Regions from separate parts of the Homo sapiens genome. Here all the other regions are linked to region 1. Evidence: promoter capture Hi-C in 16 types of primary human blood cells and fetal thymus (Javierre and others, 2016). All regions are on one chromosome and are shown on one strand. The core of a region is centred on a gene start or on the middle of the fragment in contact, and the rest is flanking DNA. Distances in the headings are between cores, read along the strand shown.

The links. Contacts are between HindIII fragments. The CHiCAGO score rates a contact against its expected background, and 5 or more counts as called.
Region 2: a fragment that was not itself captured here is called in contact with the fragment with the promoter of PLCH1 in region 1 in 1 of 17 cell types (megakaryocytes); the score reaches 10.0 in megakaryocytes.
Region 3: a contact is called between a fragment that was not itself captured here and the fragment with the promoter of PLCH1 in region 1, in 2 of 17 cell types (megakaryocytes and fetal thymus). The highest score is 6.0, in megakaryocytes.

The regions. Positions count from the first base shown.
Region 1 is chr3:155,743,698-155,747,104 of GRCh38, forward strand. PLCH1 (phospholipase C eta 1) reads right to left here and starts at 1,374. Exons shown (of 23, transcript NM_014996.4): 1 at 1,143-1,374. RefSeq lists enhancers at 611-1,232, 1,127-1,336. The HindIII fragment of the contact is 4,475 bases long and covers 1-2,196 here.
Region 2 is chr3:155,360,170-155,363,567 of GRCh38, forward strand. No RefSeq gene overlaps it. Among named protein-coding and RNA genes, the nearest start is that of STRIT1, 68 kb to the left of the region's middle. RefSeq lists enhancers at 2,631-3,309, 3,310-3,398. The HindIII fragment of the contact is 6,745 bases long and covers 1-3,398 here.
Region 3 is chr3:155,330,511-155,334,102 of GRCh38, forward strand. No RefSeq gene overlaps it. Among named protein-coding and RNA genes, the nearest start is that of STRIT1, 39 kb to the left of the region's middle. The HindIII fragment of the contact is 8,170 bases long and covers 1-3,592 here.

The DNA.
Region 1 (3,407 bases), core at 124-2,623:
TTGGCATTATACTCTGGTCCCTTTTGCAGAGCATCTCCTTGTCATAAACATGCCAATAAACAGGACATGGGTGCTGCTGGGTTGTACAAGCTCTGCTCTTCACCTGGGTTAGGAGGCACAGATTTGTTCTTGTAACGCTCGAGAACAATCACTTCACTGAATTTTCTAACTCCTTACCAGGAAGTAAATGTTTTATTCGTCTCCCCTTTTCGGGACAGAGGGGGATTTCAATTGCTGCCCTAATAACTAATCTCTCACCATTTTCTTCTGTCCGTGATCAAAACGGTAACAAGGGAAGGGAAAAGTTGGGTTTTTTTTTTTAATTTAGTTGGTTATTGCTTTAATGCTGAACTCTCAACGTCAAAATGTGATCACAAATTGATTCGCAGAAGGAAACAAATAGAAAAAGCCTCGGGAAGGAGGGGAGAGGGCGTCGCAGACGCTCAACAGGGAACTGGGTTTAGGGGCTCGCGGGGTGGCGTCTCGGACCCGCAGCTCAGTCGCCAAGGAAACGCCGCGCAGGCGCAGAGCGTGCCGCCGCGGGGCCGGGGTTTGCCTCCACCACCCCGCGCCGCTCGGGCGCTCTTGGTTCTTCCCAGGAAAGGGCAATGGAGTATATCCTCCTCGCGCTGAGCACACCTAGTCTCTAAGAGGTCCTGAGCAGGGTCACCGGGCGCAGGAAAAGCTGTGAGACTCCCCAAGTGTAACGGACGCTGCACTCCCCTTGCTGGGAAACGCGGACCTGCTCTCCTGGCGGCGTCTGGCGGTCAGAGAGAGGGTCCCGGGACCCCGCGTGAGGGTGAAGCATCCTGCAGCGAGGCTGGACCTTCCACCGGGCGAAACGCCACCCACCACCACCGCAAGGGACCCGAGAGTTACATTATTTCGCGGACACACACACCCACCCTCATCCTTCTGAATTATGGGACCCTGAAGAGCGGCCGTGGCCAGTTCCCCGCACGGGGCCTTAGGGGATCCCCACGCACAGCACTCACAGTCCTAAACAGGCGTGTGCCGGCTGTGGCTGCCGAGAAAGGAACTTGGGCCACCTGCTCACTCGCTCATCGGACTGGCGTACCAGTTCTCTTTTTCCTGCACACCCCCTTCTCTCCTGGGCCCCTTCTTCCCCCGAAAGCACTGACCTCCTCAGCTTTGAGTGTTCAGTAGCTGAAGGACTCCTCGGAGTCCGTGGCACAAGGAGCCACCTCCGAAGTGCTGGGGTGATGAGTTATTGGCCCCTGTGACTCCAACTCCAAACCCCTGCCAAGGGCCAGAAAAGCCCCCCTAGAAGAGCACTTCTCCCCACTAGCCAGCAGAAGCCCCAGACGAGCGGGGAAGAGCAGGGCGCCGCCGCCACAACCTGCTTTCTCATTCAAATCCTCACGCTCACACAGGAGCCCCCCTCCCTCTCGGCCCCGCAGCTTCCGAGGAAATCAGGAACTGGAGTTGCGGAGAGCGGACTGGAGCGCCTGCTGCCTCCTCTGGCCCGGGCGGGATGGGTGTACGGAACCCTAGGGCTGCACGTGGAACCCCAAGGCTGCACCTGGAACCCTTGGCTTACACTCTCCTGCGGGGCTCCCCGCTTGGCAAGGGCCAGAAGCACTGGGAATGAAGTACTTTTACTCCCCCGCAAGTTTCAAAAGTTTCGAAACCCAGGGTAACCCCTCGGGGCTGTAGCCAGAGGGCCTCGGTGGTGGGGGGTAAAGGAGTTGGAGAAACAAAGTTGGAAGTGAAGGGCGCAGGGAATGGGAACTGCGTGCAACTTGCACCAAAGTGAAAAGTGTTCTCAAACGTCCGTCTTACCTCCTTTAAAAAAAAAAAATTTCTAAGAATATAGCATCTGTCGATGCCGCAAATTAAAGAGATCTACTCTGAGTGAATGGGAACTGCGTGCAACTTGCACCAAAGTAAAAAGTGTTCTCAAACGCCCGTCTTACCTCCTTTAAAAAAAAAAAATTTCTAAGAATATAGCATCTGTCGATGCCGCAAATTAAAGAGATCTACTCTGAGTGAAGTGCAACTAAAATTGAGAGCGTGTAAATGGTAACACTTTGCTTTTATTTACCCCCAGTCTCTTCATTTGGAAATGCTACTCCTTGGCATTAACAGGCCACTTATTCACTTAGATCCGTTTAGTGGCTGGTTGACTCAAGCGGGCAACCTGCCGGGAGTAAGAAGGCGGCGGTGGCAGAGGAAAGCTTGCACGAAGCAGGCACTCAAGTGTTGATGAAACGATGAAATCTACTGAATGCACTGAAAGGATGAGTGACCAGCTTGGGGCGGATGCTGGAACCGCCGCTGGCCTAGACGGCCGCGGTGTGATCCGGCTTCTGGATTCCAGGATTTACATTTATCAGCCTTCATTCAACCTGCCCTATTGTTAGTTCAAAGCCTGGCTGGGAAGGAGTGGGGACGCAGCTCTTCACTCACCTTTCAGTTTAAAATAATCCTCCAATAAGAATGTCCTAGGAAAGCTGGCAGCATGGGGTTGGCAGGGATTTTCTGGGCTTAGTGACAACATAAACTAAAGTCATTTTCTTTTTTCATGCGTGAATTTGCCCAGGAAGTTACAAACGAGTAAGTTACAAATGAGTGCCTGAGATTGGAGCTCAGGGCCTTGGCTGCCTGTTCTCTTTGACAGACAGTGTGGAGGGTGGTAGCACTGTGACCTCTCAGCGCAAGATCTAGGGTTTCACCTTTTCATCCCACTTAGCCGATACCATAGAAACAACCCATTTGTATTATTCAATTCAACAGAGGCAATTACAATGTCACAGCAAAGCACCATGGGCAAGAAGAAACTTTGTCCTGAAAACAATCCTAGACTCTCAGAAAAAAGAAAAAAGCCACCAGAATACCCACTTGAATTTCTTCCTGCCAATAGTACCAGGAAGAAATCAATTTGGAAAAAATGTAGGTAAGGTCCTTTGCCTCTATAGAAAGAAACCTCCCCAAATTTACTTGTTTTTGTTTTTGTTTTTTTGCATGCCCATACACAAGCCTCAATTTATAAGAAATTAAGTCATTAACCCTCTGCCTCCAAACTGCTTTATATTTTGTAAACAAGCTTGTTGGAGATTTGTTTTGCTGGTAACCTCCATGGTGAATAGAAAAGCCAAAAAAAAAAAAAAAAAAAAAAAAACCACCAAGATAATCCCTCAACAGCAGCAGTTCACCCCCTAACCTCCGGTGTTTGTCTTTCTTGAGTCTGAAAAAATGCAGATGCACATGTTGAAATAAACTCAGACACAAAGTTCATAATAAGAGCACTTGTTTGCTATGCATTCTTTATTTTGATAGTTTTAATCAACTCCCATAATTTTGTAAACTTTTAAATTTTTAAATTGTGTGATATTTCAAACCTACCAAAAACAGGATATATACCATGTAATACTCCTGCTCCCCCC
Region 2 (3,398 bases), core at 769-3,268, 380 kb before region 1:
ATTTTTGAAAACTGTTTTATCAGTAAACTTACAAGCTAATGTCTGCCCAACAAACATCCCAACGATGTGCACACATGAAGTGATCCTGCAGTTAAACTCCATGAATGGAGAAGACTGGATACAATTTTCCCTCTCCCTGAGAGTAGTGACAGTGCTTTGATTTTTTGCCACTACTAAAAGCAATTATGTTTTCTGTTTAAATCCATTGAGATCCATCCTTCAATGATCCTGTATTGTTGCAGAAATTTTGCATCACTAATACAGAGTGTTTTCGACAATTGGCTTTTGTGTTCCAGGTAGACACTTGTAAAGAAAATCAAAAATATTTTACCTAAAAATACACTTCTTTGAAATATTTTGAGAAGGCTATTCAGAGGGCCTGCAGACAGGAATAGCTCTGAAAAGCTGCCTTTTGTGGAGAAGATTTGCATCCGTAGAGAAAAATCTACATTAATTATATAGAAAACTTAGCTTTCTCTGAATCCCTCCCCCTTATCTGGATCTAGGAAAAATTAACTCAATCACAGACCACTGTCTATTCTTTCTGAGAGGTGGGTTTTCATCCACTTAATAATACCACCTTTGCCCCATGCCTTTCTTCCTCTCTACCTCCCATAACCTGTCTTGCCATTCTCCAAATGCCTGTTCTTACTATAACCTCAAAATGGTATAAAAATGTCAGCCATCTGGCTCTTTCTTTGAGTTTTCACATTTTGTACAACTCTTGCACATATTAATAAATTTCGCATGCCTTTTCTCCTATTCATTTCCCTTTTGTCAGCTGATTTTCAGCAAACCTTCAGAGGGTGAAGGAGAAATTTTCCCTTGGATCCTACAGTTTTGGTGACCATGGCAGGACAACCAGATTAGGAGAAAATCATTTATACAGACTAGTCTCAGGTGTAGTGACTCTGGTGTATGTTTTGGTATGAATATTCATATTGTTTGATCCTTTCCTCCCAGAAATAGTCTTTATTTTTTTCCTTTGTCTCTGTCTTTCTGTGTCATTTGTCATAAAGTACCTCTTGTCCAATATTATGTCCTTGAGACCTTAACTTGTGACTGAATGGGACCGCTCTCTTTTGGTGTCCACCATCTAGGAGTGTAACTTTTGATTCACAGCCAGTGGCCAATGTGAAAGTAAAACAGGAAAAGTTCCTTTATCCCCCTAGCATGGTGTGCGATGGGTGTGTGGCTCAGTTCTTTGGTGCCCCACTGCTCAAACCTCTAGCAGGAGTATGCAGACTTGCCAATCATGGGGATCTGACCCCATGGCAGCAGCTGGGGGTGAATGTTTACCGCTGAAGTCCCAGTGGGCATGTGTTACAGGGTGCTCTTTCAGTTTAGCCATCCATAGGTGGCTTGTGTTGATCAGCTCAATTAAACCCCTGCCTTATCGCAAGGACAGAATGCTTTCCATATCCTGGGGTTTCTTGCCTTGGCATACTGGAAGAATTGGATCGCACGTGGGCTTGGAGAATCAATGCAAGACTTTATTGAGTGGAAATAGCAGTCAGTAAATGGGGGAGCTAGAAGGGAGACGGAGTAGGAAGATGGTTTTGCCCTGGAGTCAAGCTGCTCAGTGGCTGGGCTCTCCTTCTGCCCTGTCCAAACTCTGCGGCACTGGTGGATGGCCTGTCAGCTGGATGGCATCTGTTGGTGTGTTCTTTCACCAGTGCGTTCCTCTCAATATCCAGCCACTTGTGTCTTCTTCCACTGGTGTGTTCCTCTTGACGTCCACCTGCTTGTGTGCATGTCTGTTAGGGTCTTGGGGGTTTTATAGGCACAGGATGGGGACATGGTGGGCCAGGATGGTCTTGGGAAATGCAACTTTTGGGCACGAAAACAGAAATGCCTGTCCTCATCTAGGCCCATGGTCATAGGCTGGAGGTGAAGCCCTGGCCAGGGACCCAGACTTCTCTACCCAGTACTTCCCTGCCCGCACCCCCCCATATCAAAAGGACTGGGAATCTCTAGACACATAAGATATTAAGCAGCACACTCTTTGTTCAGAATGTGCCAAGCTCTCAGGGGAGTTTGTATTAATAAGAATTCCCATCCATAGGCTGGGTGCAGTGGCTCATGCCTGTAATCCGAGCACTTTGGGAGGCTTAGGTGGGTGGATCACCTGAGATCAGGAGTTCAAGACCAGCCTGGCCAACATGGCAAAACCCTGTCTCTATGAAAAATGCAAAAATTAGACAGGTGTGGTGGCATGCACCTGTAATCCCAGCTACTTGGGAGGCAGAGGCAGGAGAATCGCTTGAACCCAGGAGGCAGAGGTTGCAGTGAGCTGAGATTGCACCACTGCACTCCAGCCTGGGTGACAGAGGGAGACTCTGTCTCAGAAAAGAAAGAATTCCCACCCATGAGGGGCTTTTGTTGTCTCAATCCTTGTTGCCTGATTAGGCCTGGGAAAGTCCAATCCCAGGGGGGTATACCCAGTGTCACAAATTAACAAGCCTGTGACTGGCAAGCCCCCACAAATTTGTGGGATACTAGAGGCACCATACATATGCACAGACATCATCCTTAACCATCTGTGGAAGGAGAGTCTTTTGTTATTTAACTTATTTCTGGGAGTAAATTTTTGAGGGTTTCATATGATGCTGCATCTTCTGCACCCATTTTTAAAACGCCACTTATGTCCATGGTGTTCCTTCCATTAAAAATGTCTGTTGGCTTGAGTCGCTTATGAAATAAACAAAAGGACTATATTTAAAAGAAAACTTTTTAGAGAGCTCTTATCTTAAATAGCCATCTTATTGGTATCTATGAAAAAATACAAAAGAAATATAGCCTTTAAAATTCTATTGGCAAGATTCCAAAATGGCAGAAATCAGATTTAAAACAAAGTTAAAACCCTGTGTATACACACACTGCCTGCTTTGGATTCCCTGTGGGATATGCAAAAAGGGCAATCCAGCCTGTATTCTAGTGGCGAGGATTCCATGCTTTCACATCCACTGCCCAGGTTTGATTCCCAGACGGAGAACCAGTCCCTTAGAGATGTAAGTCCTTTAACCCAGGAGGTAAAAAGAAACATTTATAAGTAAGGAGAGCAAAGATCACCTAGTGACCATCAAGCAGGCCATTAAGAGACAAAAAGAAAAATTCCTTATTTGAGGAATTTAGAAGTAATTAGACTTCCCTATTATCTAAAGTCAGCACCTGGTTCCAGGCCTCTTTTCAACTTAAAATTTACAGGAAACTAGAATGTCTATACACCTCCAGAATGCATGCATGCCGAACTGCCAAACTCATTGTGCAATCCTTACCGACATTAAGGCACCAAGATGTCTACAAATGTAATCGTTTATCATGCAAATTACCCTTCAGCTTCCGCTTTAAGGTCTCTAAACACCTCTAAAGAAAAAGCCACCATGCTGTGCTCAGTC
Region 3 (3,592 bases), core at 581-3,080, 410 kb before region 1:
CTGTGGGAGGATATTGAGGACAACAGGACATGATGTCCCATCAGATAAAAACTGAAGAGTCTGGTTTATCCATGCAGATACATTCAAAAACAGTTCAACAACCAGATTTTCAAGATAATGGGTTTTTAACAAGACTTGCTTACTTTTGACTCTAAATCTGAAGACTTAACAAAATCATGAAGGTGACTGGATTATGCAATTCTCAGATCTGGCTGAGTTTTTTCAAAACCCTCATCCAGATATTTTGAATTACTAGACCAAAATAGGGGCTGAGATATATCTAGTTTTAATCTCCCCAGTGAATTTCATAAATGTGCTGTCAGGTTTGGGATCTTCTGATGATCTTTGATGTCTCTTCCAATACCAAGGGCCCTTGCTACTGTGAAACACCTTCCAGGGCAACAGAACCAACTCGTACTGGGCCGCTTATCTGCTCAGCTGAAGCCAGAGCGGAGAGTCATGAGAGTCATGAAAGCAGTATATTTGAAAATAAACATGGGCTTTTTATTCTGCACATAGATCTTGAAATGTATAATGTATACACATGTGTATACAAACATTAGTAATATATATCAACCAAAGGTGGTAATCAATATGAAGATTAGAAAATGCTATCGATGCCATTTCCAAAAGTGATCCACTATTTCAGTCTTTCAGAAACCAACATATGGAGCAAATTAATTTTTGAGGAAACACCAACATTTATCATTATCAAACAGAAATCAACATGACACATAATATTGTTCATCTGTTTCACTTGTAAGCCATGAGAACACTGAGAATTGGCATATATTCCATTTTCAGAGAGCCAATTTAAGTCCCAACCAGACAGCACAAAGCTCTGTAACTTACATGGAAATATTTATTAAAACAGTCAAGGGTAACACGCTTAAGGATGAAAGTAACCCTACAGATGATACCTTCTTGTCATCTGCTCATAGCCATATTCCCCTGGATCTGTGCTTGTCAATTCAAGATTGCTAAGTTCCAATAAGTTATTTGTTTGTTTTGATGGAAATACCTGGGATTCTTTTGATAGGGAGCTTGGGACTGTTTGTTTCAGAAATAAAAATAATAATGTACTACTATTAATTATTAGTAGATTTCTTTTTACATGTAAATCCTCAAAGAATCCACTTCAGGAATATGCTGTATTTATGTAGATTTTAGGGTAATAGTCTTCAGCTCTGATGTTCTCCTTCCAGTTCTTGTACCCATCTCTATCAGTACCATCAGTACCATTCTCTTTTTTTTCTTTTCTTTTTTTTTTTTTTTGAGACGGAGTCTCACTCTGTCACCCAGGCTGGAGTGCAGTGGCGTCATCTCAGCTCACTGCAACCTCCCCCTCCTGGGTTCAAGTGATTCTCCTGCCTCAGCCTCCCAAGTAGCTGGGACTACAGGCCTGCCACCACGCCCAGCTAATTTTTGTATTTTTAGTAGAGACAGGGTTTGACCATATTGGCCAGGCTAGTCTCGAACTCCTAACCTTGCGATCTGCCTGCCTCAGCCTCCCAAAGTGTTGGGATTACAGGCATGAGCCACCGCACCTGGCCAGTACCATTCTGTTGATATTTGCTCTATATTCTTAATTTGTGATAATTTATTTATTTTTGTTTTGTTGTTTTATGTGAGGCATTTCCTGGTAGACAACTGTTCACAGGCTGTGTCCTCTCCCCAGATTAAACAAAAGGGACTGTTAGATACAGAATCTTAGTTGAGATTGATGCTCAAAGATCTGAGGTGCCTTCCCTTAGGGGAAGGAGATATGAGAAATACATAGAGTCCATTTTGTCTGGGAACCCACCAACTGAGCATTTACCCGGCCCCTGAATTTATAACTGAGATAGGAGTATTTAGTCAATTTCATAGTCAGTGGTTATAATGTCAACATTGCGTCCTTGGCATGTGGAGTAAGGGGTGTCATGGTGGGGAAGGTCAGATTGAAGCCTCTGAAACTGCTCCCCTCAAATTAAAAAACGTTACATCATATACTAAGGGCAGAGGGATGGCAAAAGTCAATGCTACCCTTAAGGATCTAAAGGATTCAGGGGTGGTAGTCTTTGTGTTATCTTCATTTAATTTTCCAGTGTGGTCCCTGAAGAAACCAGATGGATTCTAGAATAGACTATTGAAAACACAATCATGTAGTAGCCCCAGTTGCATCTGCTGTGCCAGGCATGGTGTTTTTCTAGAGCAGATTAATACAGCCTCAGGTACAAAGGTATGCAGCCACTGACTTGTAAAATATGTTTTTTTTTTCTATTCTAGTCAGAAAAGTGTGTCAAAAATAGTTTGCAGTCACATGAAACAGGCAGCACTATACTTTTACAATTTGCCCCAGAGCTGCGTTAACTCCCGTGTTTCTGGCTGGAATATATTACAAAGACATCTGGACCACCTGGACATCCAACAGAGAATCACAGTGACGCATTGCATACATGTCATTATGCTAATTTATCCGGATGAGTAAGAAGTCTAGCAGGCTGGAGGTCTTAGTAAGACTCATGCACTAAAGAGAGTTGAAGATAAGACTTATGAAGATTCAAAGGGCTACATCAGAAAACATTTGGGGGTCCAGTGGTGAGGGGCATGCCAGTAGATCTTCAAATAAAAGACAAGTTATTGCATCTCACACCTTCTATCCTGAAGTAAGGAGCTCAATGCCCTAAAGTTCTGAATGTGGAATATTCCACACCTGAAAATACTCCTCTAGCCTATCTACCAGGTGACACAAAAGGCTGCTGAACTTGAGTGAGGCCAGGGGAAGAAGAAAGCTCTGCAAGAGCTCCAGGCTGTGGCGGTGCAAGTAGCCCTGACACTTGGGCCTTCAGCCAGAAATCCTTATAGTGTTCAAGATTCTAGTAGCGAGAAAGATGCTATGTGTAATGTGTGGTAAGCTCCAGTGAAGAATGACAGTAAAGCACTGAGGGTCTGGAGCTGGGCCGGGCCATATGCAGTGAATTATTAGACACCTTTTGAAAAACAACTCCTGCTTTGTTCTTGAACTCCAGAAGAGAAGTATTTCTTGGCCATGGGACACCAAGCACCCATGCATCCAAAACGTATCAGCATGAACTTGATCCTATCAGACCTACCAAATCATAATGTCCAGTGCGCCCAGCAGCAATTCATCAAAAGATAAAAATAAACAAGATCAGAGGGCCATTAAAAGTGAACAAGGCTGGGCGCAGTGGCTCATGCCTATAATCTCAACACTTTGGGAGGCCGAGGTGGGAGGATCACTTGAGGTCAGGAGTTCAAGACCAATTTGGCCAATATGGTGAAACCCCATCTCTACTAAAAATACAAAAATTAGCTGGGCATGATGGCACATGCCTGTAGTCCCAGCTACTTGGGAGGCTGAGGCAGGAGAATCACTTGAACCTGGGAGGCGGAGGCTGCAGTGAGCTGAAATGGCACCACAGCACTCCAGCCTGGGTGACAGAGCAAGACTCTGGCTCAAAAAAATAAAGGAAAGGAAATGAACAAGATCAGAGGCCCTAAGCAGGTGCTTGAACAGGTAGCTCAGACACCCTTGTCAAGCACCATGCCATTTCAGCTCAAACCTACAGCCATGTGGGTAATCACTTAG